Linked DNA regions of Homo sapiens: all the other regions are linked to region 1. The links are contacts of gene promoters, found by promoter capture Hi-C in blood cells and fetal thymus (Javierre and others, 2016). All regions are on one chromosome and are shown on one strand. The core of a region is centred on a gene start or on the middle of the fragment in contact, and the rest is flanking DNA. Distances in the headings are between cores, read along the strand shown. Region 1 holds the start of MAMLD1 (mastermind like domain containing 1). Region 2 overlaps MTM1 (myotubularin 1). Region 3 overlaps MTM1 (myotubularin 1). Region 4 has its middle 39 kb from the start of MIR2114. Region 5 has its middle 45 kb from the start of MTM1.

Evidence for each region. Contacts are between HindIII fragments. The CHiCAGO score rates a contact against its expected background, and 5 or more counts as called.
Region 2: a fragment that was not itself captured here is called in contact with the fragment with the promoter of MAMLD1 in region 1 in 1 of 17 cell types (activated CD4 T cells); the score reaches 5.5 in activated CD4 T cells.
Region 3: a contact is called between a fragment that was not itself captured here and the fragment with the promoter of MAMLD1 in region 1, in 1 of 17 cell types (non-activated CD4 T cells). The highest score is 6.4, in non-activated CD4 T cells.
Region 4: a fragment that was not itself captured here is called in contact with the fragment with the promoter of MAMLD1 in region 1 in 1 of 17 cell types (M1 macrophages); the score reaches 5.6 in M1 macrophages.
Region 5: a fragment that was not itself captured here is called in contact with the fragment with the promoter of MAMLD1 in region 1 in 1 of 17 cell types (activated CD4 T cells); the score reaches 5.2 in activated CD4 T cells.

The regions. Positions count from the first base shown.
Region 1 is chrX:150,362,036-150,364,587 of GRCh38, forward strand. It overlaps MAMLD1 (mastermind like domain containing 1), which reads left to right and starts at 1,282. Exons shown (of 8, transcript NM_005491.5): 1 at 1,282-1,495. The HindIII fragment of the contact is 7,703 bases long and covers 1-2,552 here.
Region 2 is chrX:150,612,951-150,615,502 of GRCh38, forward strand. MTM1 (myotubularin 1) reads left to right here. Exons shown (of 15, transcript NM_000252.3): 5 at 1,639-1,749. Among named protein-coding and RNA genes, the nearest start is that of MTM1, 46 kb to the left of the region's middle. The HindIII fragment of the contact is 1,207 bases long and covers 686-1,892 here.
Region 3 is chrX:150,595,667-150,598,218 of GRCh38, forward strand. It overlaps MTM1 (myotubularin 1), which reads left to right. Exons shown (of 15, transcript NM_000252.3): 3 at 832-904. Among named protein-coding and RNA genes, the nearest start is that of MTM1, 28 kb to the left of the region's middle. The HindIII fragment of the contact is 6,867 bases long and covers 1-2,552 here.
Region 4 is chrX:150,187,382-150,189,933 of GRCh38, forward strand. No RefSeq gene overlaps it. Among named protein-coding and RNA genes, the nearest start is that of MIR2114, 39 kb to the right of the region's middle. The HindIII fragment of the contact is 3,210 bases long and covers 1-2,552 here.
Region 5 is chrX:150,522,675-150,525,226 of GRCh38, forward strand. No RefSeq gene overlaps it. Among named protein-coding and RNA genes, the nearest start is that of MTM1, 45 kb to the right of the region's middle. The HindIII fragment of the contact is 765 bases long and covers 889-1,653 here.

The DNA of each region.
Region 1 (2,552 bases), core at 32-2,531:
ACTGGGAAGTGGGGAGTGGGGCACTCGGCCGGGATGGAGAGAATGCAGTTCACTAACTGCCACCTGAGAGCCCTGGTCCCCGCTGCCGCCACAGCGGGTCTGTTTGGCAGTCAGGGCGCGAGCTGGTGAGCGGATGCGTGGGCGGAGGGACTGGCGCTACCCACCCAGCAGCCACCCACTGCAGGTGAGTGCCCCTCCCAGGGCGAGGGGAGGAGAAGGGCCTGGCCGCTAGCCCTAGGGTCAGGCTCTGGTGAAAATGGGAAGGGGGATGGGGGCTGAATAGGCTACTTTGTGATGAGACTCCCGTCCCTGTGACACTTCAGGGTCCTCTGGGGATCTGTCATTCCTCTTGCAAGCTCTCTTGTTCTCTGGTCCCTCTCCTCCTCTCCTTATTTCCTCCTCTCCTCTCCTCTCCTCTCATCTCCTCTCCTCTCCTCTCCCTTCATCGTGTCTCTACCTCTATCTCCGCCGGTGCCTCTCTCGGTATCTGTCTCTCAGTCTCTGCCTTCTCTGTGTCTCGTACGGTCTCCTGTCTTTCTTGGTCTCTCGGTCCTGAGCGCTCTCTCGCCCTGTCACTGATGACCGCTGGCTTTTGGCTCTCCGTGCTCGCTCTTCGTGTGTCCCGGCCACGCACGGCTCACCAGCTCGTTTTCCCCAGACGCGGAAAGTCTACCTTCGGCGTGCGGGTTTCCCAAGCGCGCCGGGCCCCGCCTGCGGCCCTCCGGCGGGCTCTGTCTGCTGGAGGCGCTCCGCTAACCCTGCTGTCGCCTCTTTCCACCAGCGCACCGCCTAGGCAAGCCAGCTGACGCCGGGGGCACAGACCACCCTCCACTGAGTGCGGAGCAGCCAAGGTGAGTGCACCGATGCCCCTTCCGCCCCTCCGATCCCTCCCCAGCTGCCCTGGTTCGAGCCGACTGGAGAAATGAGGCTGCAACAGCGAAGCCAGCCTGCGGCCGCTTTCTCCTCTAAAGACTGGTGGGAGGGCCCGGGAGGCCCCTCGGGCGGCCGCAGCTCTTTGGCTGCCCGCTGCCCCATCCCGGAGTGGAAACCCTGAGTTTCCAGGCTTCGGGCTGGCGGGGTCGCGGGCAGGGCAGCGCGGCTTCCCCTTTAAGGCCGGAGCCGCTCGTCGCCGTGAGTGTGAGGGTGTGTGAGTGTGCGGCGTGCGTGTCTCCTCCTCCCCGAGTGACACAGCAGTGAGAAATGCCTATCAGTAACTTAAACCCCCGAAACTCCACCTTCCGGGCGCGCGGCGCGGAGCCGGGCGGTGGGAATGGAGCGAGCAGATTGAGGCCGCCACTGCAGCGCCGCCAGCATGAACTTGGCCGCGAGCTGAAGCGGCCGGCGGCGGGCGGGCGCGGGGGCACCGGCCGCTAGCCAGGGGGTGATCTGCAACAGGGCTGGGTTCCTTGGCGGCCGCCTGAGTCCAGGCTGCCCGCGCCGGCGGCCGCCCGCCCCTCGGACACTGCCCCCGCCGCCGCCGGAGCTCTGCAGCACGGTAAGGCTGAGGGCGGGTGCAGGAAGTCTGACTGTTCTGGGGGTTCCGGGGTACACTTGTAGCCCCCAGTTATGGTCCCCATCGCTGAGGATCGGGGTCCCAGGGGTGCTTCGAGTCGGTAGACCCTAAAGTTTGCTCTGAGCACACGGCCCACCTGGCGCTGCGGGCGGCCACCCCCTTCTCGAACCAGCCCGGCTGGGCTGGGCGCAGCTCGAAACGCCGGAGACCACGGCCTTTGGCTCGGCGCCCGTCGGGCGTCTGAAATCCGGCGGGGACAGCCACGTACCGGGGAGGAAAGGTAGAAGGGCGCAAGCTCCTCGGGCTACGCTGGGCTACTGGGAGGCTCCCACTCTGTCCCAGCACCCCCGGGTCGCTTGCAGCCTGGGTGTCACCGGCGACGGTGCCTTCACATGCCAGCTGCCTGAGCCCAGGCCAGTAGGCAGTGGGCGCTGGATGAAGGATTTCCCCACCCCAACGCTGTTTGCCGCCTCTGAGCGAGAGTGTGGAGTGTGCGCGCCGAATCCGCTGCCCTGCACTCCCTCCCCTGCCAACTCCTGGGAAGCGCAGCCCGGAGCTGAGCTGGTGTTCAGGGCAGCCCGGACTGGGTTCCTGCGGAGCAGCCCCGGCGCCCCTGCGTCAGAGTCCGCGCTTCAGGTTCCCCAGCATCCGCGCGACGACAGAGCTGGGCGCCCGGCGCCGGCTAGCGCGGGCGGGAAGCCCCCCGGAGCGCCGCCAAATACTTTTCTCGGCCAGTTGGCTTGGCCAGGCTCCGTCCCAATGCAGTGTGTCCGAAGCCTCCTGGAAAGCTGGAGATGTCGTCTGATTCTGATCCGTGATTAAATTCGGACTGAGCAGACACTAATAGGATTAGCCTGCCAGAAAGCTCGGCCCTGAAGCCATCGGAACCTGTGCAAACACGCGCCTCGGGCTGGAGCATTCACTCCCGCCCCGCCGCGCTTCTGCAGCTGGGTGCGGCTGACCTGGGCACCCGGAGTGTGGGTGTGTGTGAGCGGGCGGGAGCACAGCGTGGCTGGGGGACGTGGGGAGAAGGGGCTGC
Region 2 (2,552 bases), core at 39-2,538, 250 kb after region 1:
TCCAGCCTGGGTGACAGAGTGAGACTCATCTAAAAAAAAAAAAAAATTAAGTGTGGCTGGTGGTGTGTGCCTGTGGTCTCAGCTACTTGGAAGGCTGAGGTGGGAGGATCCCTTGAGCCTGGGACGTCAAGGCTGCAGTGAGCCACTGTACTCCAGCCTGAGCAACAGAGCAAGAACTTATCTCTTAAAAAAAAAAAAAAAGGGGGGAAAGAAAAGAAAAACTTTGTAGCCCCAAAAGGTTTTTAAAGAACAAAAAACCAAATAACCCTTAAAAATTTTTTTTCTTTATTTTTCAAACTTATCTATCACAATATGAAAGAAAAGTTTGGATTAAAAATGGTGTAGCCCTTCATGTCTTTGTCCCTGTAAATAGATATTTCATGTTATTGTAGTCACCGTGTGTGTTGTATGCTGCTGTTTCCCACTTAAACTTACTTTTCCATGTACCATAATTATTTTAAAAACTGTATACTTGTTCCAGCGAGTTGAGTATAATTTTTTCTACCCTGTTATCTACCTCTAGCTCCATTGAACATCTTCCTTCTGTTAAGTGATAGCCATAAGTTCTTAGTAGCGAAATTATTGGATCAAAGAGTAGGACAATTTTTATGGCACTTTTAATGTGTGTTTTCAGGCATTGCCTCGAGTCTCAACCCTGCCCTATACTTACTAAACAAGTTATTGAAGCTTTGAAAAACTTAGGAAATGGGGATACTTCACCTATATCCTGGAACGGTTGTGAGGATAAAATGAGATGATGCGTGCAAAGCCCCTAATGTAGTACCTGGCACAGAAGAGAGGTATTTCCTACATGGCAGCTGCTGTGATGATCTCCTGGTGATGATTGTGCTATTACTTGACTAACATGATTCCATCATGCCAGCAGTCTTCTAGACCACTTGCACCCAGCGTTGGATAGCAAATGATGGAGAAGCCTTGCTGTGCATTAAGGCCCTTCTGCTTTGGGAAATGCACGCATGCCAGAGACAAGCACCATTTCCAGATGCTTGGTCTCTAGTGGGGGAATACATATGTGTAAATTCGTGGTAACAAGGCAGAGTGAAGCAAGTGGTTAACAGCAGTCGGAATCAAGTGCTATGGAACTTCTGAGGAAAAAGTGATGAATTCTGCCTGATCTAATTGGGAAGCAAGGCCTCATTAGAGGTGATGCTTGCTGAGCCAAGGCGAAAGTCATGGGGACAATTTTGGTAGCTGGGAAAGACAGATCATTCTAGGCAAAGGGAACACCCTGAGCAAAGCAGGTGGCTTGATCGTAGATGAAGCATCTGAAGAATGAAGAAGTTTACTTAGTTGGAGTGCAGAATATCGTGGGAGAGAATCCCACAGAAACAGGCTGGAAGTGATATCACGGACGTCCTGGAAATGTGTACCTAGGAGTTTAGTCTTTACTCCAGAGGCAGTGCACAATGGCAAATGTTTGGGGATGCATTTTGATTGCATAATTGACTGTTTTAATGCTTGCTCTGTCATGTGTGATCTGTATCATATTTTTGTTCATAAAGTGCTAAAAGGGCCAAGGTAAAATCACTCTGAAAGCATATGGTTGTTTTTATATGTTTTTTGATGTTTTAATTATACTGACAGAAATACTGACTACTGTATTTTTGTCCATTACAGGATTCTTCTCTAATACTTGATGTTCCTCTGGGTGTGATCTCGAGAATTGAAAAAATGGGAGGCGCGACAAGTAGAGGAGAAAATTCCTATGGTCTAGATATTACTTGTAAAGTAAGAGATTCGATACTTTCTTATGCAAAGAACAAGGCACGTTAGTGTTGAATGATAGTAGACAATTAATGTGGATTTGAAAAAAAAAAATCAAAATCTCATGTTCATCTAAGGCCCTGGAAATGGTTCTTCCCTTAAGAACAAGCTTTTCAAAAGTGCCTGGGAAATAGTGCCCACGTGAGGGACCCACTGCAATCACCAAATACAAGGACTCGAGGAACTGGTCAGTTTGTTAGCTTGACTGAGTGGGAAGAGAACTTTATAGATAAAATTTCTTAAACCACTTTAGTTTTTGCTCCAGCTTGCTCCTGGCGCCCCTTCATGTCATATGTTAACATGAAGGAAGGAGGAATAGAAGAGATTTTGCCCTCTGTTAACGGGATGTGTCCTTACCTCTAATAACCTTCGTAACTTTTGCTTAGGTCATTTTCAGAGGTACACTTTGCTGTGATAGTAACCATGTATTGAACATTTGTGTCCATCCAAACACATGCTAGGTGCTTTGCATTTGATCCTCAAGTGCAACCCTCTGAGATGGCGTGATGGGAGCCCGAGGCTCCAAAGAGTTGGGTAACTTTGCTAAGATAATTTCTGAAGGCTGGGACCCAAAAGGTGGGGATGTGTTCAAGCGTCTCGTGTGACTATGAACCACCAGTCCAGTGCAGGGCTTTGCAGACTTTTTCTGTGAAGGGCTCAGTAGCAAATATTTTAGGCTTTGTGGGCCACATCAGATTTCTGTTGTGTATTCTTCTCTGTGTGTTGTTTTTTCAACCCTTTTGAAGTGTTAAAAAAAAAAAAAAACA
Region 3 (2,552 bases), core at 28-2,527, 230 kb after region 1:
ACACATCTTCGTATTAATCCACTAGGGCAGCTGAATAACCTGAAAGACAATGGGTAGCTATGGCAAATTAGGCTCTGCGAACTCGCCTGCAGGTTGTAGTGGTTAATATTACTGTGCCCACCTAGCAGAGCTGTGGAAGTGATTGAATGAGGCACATGCTTGGGAATACCTCTAAAGCCAGGAAGCCTAGAGAAATAGTAAAGTGATGTGAAGAATTTGTACAAATGGCTCCTAAGACTTTTGCCAGCTCAAAAGTTCTCTGACAGACCACTCTTACCTCTTATTAGGACAGGGATCTTAGTAAATGTGAGGAAGTAAAAAGAGAGGAAGGGTCTTAGTGAAATAGGAAACGCAATAGGTAATCAATGATTTTCGGGCATTGTAATAGGATTCTGGCTAATGGCTGTGCTGTTATTCAGTTAAGCCTCTGTGGAATTGAAGTTTTCCTTCCTACTCTTCCCAAAAGATGGCTGAATATGAAAAAAAGAAAGCTGCTACAGTGTATGTGTATCTATAGAACACACTTAATGTTTACTTTTTATCACTTTCCCGAAAGCTGTTAACTTTAAAGTGCTTGGAAATGTAGTTTAAAAATTAATATTATTGAAAAGCATGCTAGCATTATTTAATACTAGAAGTTGACACATCTAATTAATGTTGGTGCCAGATTGTAACTTTTTTGTTTGAATTTTTGTGCCAGTTTTCCCAAATGCTAAATCTCTAATGCTTTTTCTTTAAAAAACATATTTCTAGTGGCTTGTATTCCTAGTTGCTTAAAAACAGTGTGTAAATGTAACGTCATTACTTCTGATGCATCTGTTTTGTTTCTAGACGTCTCGAGATGGAGTCAATCGAGATCTCACTGAGGCTGTTCCTCGACTTCCAGGAGAAACACTAATCACTGGTAAGGACCTGCTGACATAAGATTTGCATAACTTGAGGAGAAGTCTGGCAGGATCAGGTGGCTTCAGTCCCGCTTACTCTTTAGCAGTCAGGCTTAGACAAATAGGCTACCTTTGTTTAGAAGCGTTAACACAGAACTCTCTGCATCCCTTTCTTGATTAAAGAGTTCTTTTGAGAGCTTCATGCTCACAAGGGTAGTGATATTCTTGTGTCTGTACCAAAGACTGAGAATGATTTAGGGGAAAAAAATGTGGATTATCTCTTGAAAGTCTCTCATTGGAGCCATAAGCTCTCATGGTTTAAGGTTTTAAGAGCAAAATGATTTCCAGTCAATGATGCATGCTTTAAAATGATAAACTTAAAGGCTTGAAGGCTTAATCATTCTCCTCTTTGAAATATAGGAGAACATATTGCTTTAAAATATCTTTCATTCGTCAGAAAATGGAAGTTAGTATTTAGGTAATATTTTGATGTTATTTTTCATGATAAACGTATACTAAAAGGAAGGGATCAACTTTGGAAGGGCTAGATCACTACGGCTTAAGAATATAGAAGCATCTGACAGCTTCTAAGCCAAGTGCTAATGTTCTGGGCAAATTTTATATGTGGATTAACACCCTCCTTTCAGACTTCAATGTATTTGAAGCAGATGTGATGACCATTGTTCCAGGGAACCTTTTGATTAATTCAGATCTGGGTTGTTTAGCTTAAATGGCTAAAACCTCGTGCTAATTAGATGGCGGGCCTAAGCGAGGTACCTTTGGGAATTAGCCATACACCATGAGAAATTCTCTTCTGAGTCCACAAACTTGCACACATTCTAGTCTTGAAATGGAGACCAGTGGGATGTGTTCATCCCAATTTCTGGATAAGAGCAAAGAAGATATTTTACTTTTGATCGTCTTCATATATGAAGTTTTGGTGGTAGGTATCAGCGCCTGAACCTTAACCCAGGTGGTAACTAATGGAACTAGCATAAAGTAGCTTTATTAAGTATTTTTTATTTAGAACTTGAAGAGAAAGGGATTTCAAAATCATTACGAGTCATTAACACATTCAAGGACATCCCTGAAAGATGAGAGGCATATTTCTATTATAATTAATTATTCTGATTTAGCTTCTCCTTATGTTTATTCTACCAAAGATGTACTATTCTTTCGGCCACCTGTTTTATATCACTTCAGTGTTTGAAATGAACCTAGCCAAACTCTATTCTAGACTATTAAAAAGAAAAAGGTTTGGTGCGGTGGCTCACACCTGTAATCCCAGCACTTTGAGAGGCCAAAGTAGGAGGATCACTTGAGGCCAGGAATTGGAGACCAGCCTGGGCAACACAGCAAAACTTCATCTTTACTAAAAATTAAAAAACGAGCTGGGTGCAGTGGCGCATACCCATAGTCCCAGCTACTCAGGAGGCTGAGGTGGGAGGATTGCTTGAGCCTGAGAGGTTGAGGCTGCAGTGAGCCATGATTGTGCCACTGAACTCCAGCTTGGGCAATAGAGCAAGACCCTATCTCAAAAACAAAAAAAGACAGAATAAACTGGAAAGATTTCTACTGCTGACATTTATTTATTAAAAACATGATTATGTTTCTGTGGTTAGAGATTGGTAGCCTCATCTCTCAGTCTAGTGGTTAGTCCGTGAGACT
Region 4 (2,552 bases), core at 17-2,516, 170 kb before region 1:
CCCTCCTCCATCCCACTTAGAAGAATCATTGTTGATTACGTTTAGGGCAAATCCTGAAAATCCAAAATGACCTCCCCATCCCAAGATCCTTAAGTCAATCACATTTGCAAAGTCCTTTTTGTCATGTCAGGTAACATATTCACAGCTTCTGGGGATTATGATGTGAGCATCATGGGGGCCAATTATTCAGCCCTACTACATATGAAAAGAGTTCTTATGTTTTCACGAATAAAGAAAGATGATAATGGCCATCTTCTTTTGAGTGCTTACCATCCATCATATATTTTCTCATTTAACTTTTGTGGACTCTAAGAGGGTATGTTCCATTCCTATCCTTCAAGTTGCCAAAAACAACCCAGCTAGGAAGTGGCAGGGCTAGGTAGCACTCCTATTCCCAGGGCTGTGCATTTGTGTCAAATCTCCTTCTGCCTCCCCCTTATAAAGACACATGATGTTGCATTTAGAGCCTACCCAAATGGATGAAGATGTGAGGATAACATCCTCATCTCAAAATTATTAATTTATTCACATCTGCAGAGATGCTATTTCCATATAAGGTAACATTTAGAAGTTCCAGATTTGGGGCCATTATCCAGCCTACAATAGTTTTCATCATCACCTAGGTCTTACAGCAGGGTATTCACATGGCTGTAACTCTTCTTTAAACACCTACTAAAGTTAATGCCATATCTGGATTCATCTTAAAAATCTTACCCCTTGACTCCTGAATTCACTAACCCAGAGGTCTCATCTTTTTGCCGTAATTTTGAGAGATAATTTTCGGTTTTATTTATTTTTTTTTTTAGACAAGGTCTCACTCTGTCACCCAGGTTGGAGGGCTGTGGTGCAGTGGCATGATCATGGCTCATTGCAGCCTCAAACTCCTGGGCTCAGGCAGTCCTTCCACCTCAGCCTCCCAAGTGGCTAGGACTACAGGCACGTGCCACTGCACCCCACTATTTTTTTTTTTATTTTTTGAAGAGATGTGATTTCAACATGTTGCCCAGGCTGATCTCAAACTCCCGGCTTCAAGTGATCCTCCCCCATTGGCTTCCCAAAGTGCTGAGATTATAGGCATGAGCCACTGCACCCAGGCAAGAGCCAATTTTCAATTATCTATGGAAGTGATATATTAACTGATATTTGCCAAACGTAAATTCATGTTTGCATTCACAGAGTGAATGGGGAAGAACTGTGGAGACAGATACCCCAACTTGTGTCCTCACTCTGAGATGACCTCTTCAAAGAGTGTTCATGGCCAGTTCAGGAGGCAGCATGCAGAATGGCAAGGTAACTGAGCTTGGAGTCAGAGAAGCTGAGTTTTGACACAGCTCTATTACTGCCAGCTGAGTATGACCAATCACTTAACCTTTCTGGGCCTCAATTTCTTTGTCTGTGAAACAGGACTATTGATATCTGTGTTGCTTACCTCACAGGGCAGAGGTCAAGTATGCATGTATGCTCTTTTTCCATCTGCAAGAGCATGGCTCAAGCTGGGTGAACAGTGAGGGCCATGTAGTCATGTACTCCCAGGCAGCAAGTGGTAGTGAGGCCTGAAGCCTGGGCAGGCCCTATAGGAGGACTCAGGCCACTGGGAGACATCAAGAAAGGCCTTGACAAGGTGTGTGTGCTCACATACCACCTGTTTCCCTCAACAGCCCAGGCCTGGGGCCTGCCAGCTAAGATTTGCTGCTCGCATTGAGCCTCATAAATGAATAAAGTAGGTAATTTAATATCATTGTGACAACTACAAGAGAGATTTTGCATGTCTGCTTTGCAGCATAAAGTTTCCTTAGAGCCAACTTTCAGACTTGGACAATTTCTATATTCTTTCCTACCTCTACCTCCCCAGAGAGGCAGGGATGTCAGACAGAAATTAAGAAAATTCTGAATTCCTCAGGAAGATTACTGTGTTTGGATTTTTTTGAAAGAATTGAATGAACATTTTGTCAACATGGTATCAGGGGAAAGAGGAGTGGCATATTCAGCACTATCTTGCATCCTTGAGAAGATAAAGGCAGACTTTGAGCACGGAGGATTCTTGTCTGTTGACCTCTACTCTAAGGCACCCCTGTGGACCTCTCCTCCACTCAATCTAAAGTGGATGTAAAAGTCTATCCTCATCTGGACAGGCCAAGTGGGCCCTCCATGCTGTCTTTCTCTAGCGTCATGCCCCGAGGCTCCAATGACTATATAAAGGGGCTGCTTCTCCAGCCCAAGCCCAGCAGCCCTAACCTCTCCCACTTTACACTGGCTCCTGTTTTCATCCTTCGTCCCTCCCAGCCACTTCCATGCCTTTGATAGCACATGGACTCAGCATCCTCAGAGTACATCAGTGCAGATCGTCAGATAGAGTGCCAGGGGGGTAAACATTTCAGTCATTCAGAACCCATTCCACTTGGAGCACATGGTATGTCAGGGACCCAGTCTATATTATCCCCAGGCGAAGTCTGGAACACAGAAATCCAGAGATTCCTAAACCCACCCAATAAACTTCCCCAGCCCTGACTGAGGTGTATTCCTATTTGCCCACCCTGTGCTCACCTACTGCC
Region 5 (2,552 bases), core at 21-2,520, 160 kb after region 1:
CAGGACTTACCATGTGTTGGAAGTCTGGTTTCCACTCCCCAAACTAGGCTGGAATTCTTTCCAGGCCAACCTGTACCAATTTGAGAGCCTCAAGCATCACCTTTGTATGAGTCTGTTCTCACATTGCTATAAAGAACTACCTGAGACTGGGTAATTTATGAATAAAAGAGGTTTAATTGACTCACAGTATTCCACAGGCTGTACAGGAAGCATGGCTGGGAGGCCTCAGAAAACTTACAATCACGGTGGAAGGTGAAGGGGAAGCAAGCACGTCTTATGATGGTGGAGTAGGAGAGAGAGAGCAAAGGGGGAAATGCTACACACTTTCTTTCTTTCTTTCTTTCTTTCTTTTTTTTGAGATGGAGTCTCGCTCTTGCTGCTCAGGCTGGAGTGCAATGGCCCCCGATCTCGGCTCACTGCAACCTCCGCCTCCCGGGTTCAAGCGATTCTCCTGCCTCAGCCTCCCAAGTAGCTGGGATTATGGTGGTGTGCGCCACCATGCCCGGCTAATTTTGTATTTTTAGTAGAGACGGGGTTTTGCCATGTTGGCCAGGCTGGTTTCAAACCCCTGACCTCATGTGATCTGCCTGCCTCGGCCTCCCAAAGTGCTGGGATTATAGGCATGAGCCACCACGCCTGGCCCAGTGCCACACACTTTCAAACAACCAGATATCATGAGAACTCACTATCTCGAGAACAGCAAGGGAGAAATCTGCGCCCATATTCCAATCACTTCCCACCAGGTCCCTCCTACAATATCAGGAATTACAATTCAACATGACATTTGGGTGGGGACACAAAGCCAAACCATATCAACCTTCCTGTTCACATCTAAAGGTCCAAAAGGAGTCTCAGGCTGTGACTGGATCTCCACTGATTCACCACGGAAGCTTAACCCAATCTTGGCTCCTGAATATTCCCAGATACCCTCAAAAGAAAACTCTCAGGAAAACACCACACCTCCTCATTCATCCTCCTCAGAAATGCTGAGAGAGGGCCTCAGTAACTTGACCCTCCAACAGAAAGTCTGTCCCCAGAGCAGGACAGTGAAGATAAAATCCAACAAAAGAGGCCATTAGATGAAACATTGTTACTTTGAATCCTTACTCAGCATTTATATTATCAGAATCAATTGATATTTAATTTTGAATATCATCATTTTATGAATTGTTCTTTGAACCTTAGAGTGAGGAAACCACCCTCTCATCCTTCCTCCTCAGGAATGCCAGTTAAGGGCTTCAGTAACTTGACCATCAGCCCTACTACTAACTAACTACAGTTTCCCTGTACTAGAAGAGCTATTTCAACAGCAGGACTTAGAAAAGATCCAACGAAAAAGGCAGCAGAAATGGGACTTGCTGTTTCTCCCCAAAAGAGAACTCTGAGGGGGCCTGAGATTTGGAGTTAAAGATTTGTCTTGCTCATAAGATGGAGATCAGACTGTATACAGGTATGGGTGTCCATATCCCATTGCAAAAATAACTTCCCAGGTACTGAAAATGATGAAGAATCCGCAAGGAGCAACAAGATGCAGAATTATGCCAAGGAATCTTACTGGCAGCAGGTTTGAGTCAACATCAGTGCCAGTACCAAAACTTTCCACTAGCAATCTTAGGATCACTATGGGGAAAGCTGCTAGGTTTCTGAAATTGAAGCTTTTTCTCTCCTCAGATGTCTTTCTCCCTTCCATGTTATCTACAATTTAAAGTTATCTACAGAGCTCGGATGCCTCTTGGATTGTAATGTGCTTTTTTCCATTTCATGGATTGACCATCCTTTGGCACATCACATGTGTATATTCAGATCGTAAACTCAATAATGAGATGAAACCGAGCATTATGAGTATGAAGCAGAAGATTGTTGGGGCAAAGGGATGTGGAAATCGATGTTAGTGATTTTACACTGTATCGTTAGGTGACACACAATTGCAATAAGGTAAATCTTCTGCTCCATACCAGTCATCTTTCCATTTTCAGCACCAAATGGATGTGTTTAAAGGAACGTGTCATTAAAGTTCAGTTTTGCTAAAAAAGAAAGTGGCGGGAGCCCTGCACACATACCTGAGACCCACCAAAGTGCAAGCCCCCTCCTCCTTGTTGCTTCTCCCTGCCCAGGGTTCCTGCCTTGCCCACCCCAGCACTCATTGCATTGCTTCAATGTGCTTTTCCAGTGATAAGAAGGAAAGTGGCACTATTGCTTGTTCTCCAAATCATCCCTGAGGCAAGGGTGCCTGAAGAAGCCAGGCTAGGCTCCTTGCTTGAAGAAATTGGAGGTGAAGATAACGTGGCAAGACACAAGCACACACACACACACACACACACACACAGAATGATATCTTTATAAGAGTTCTTGCCACCTGTGGTAACACAGTCTGCCCATCAGGAAGAGGGTACCCAAGGCTGTTACCAGAGGTTGTCCCTGGGTGGGGGAAGTGGGGTCCCAATTTACTGGCGTGCGTTCCTGAAATTGGGGCACTCTGCCCTTCCCCGCCCCGGCCCTGCACCCAGAAGGTTTTATTTGTCCCAGAGTTAGCTGACCTGGCCCATATCTGA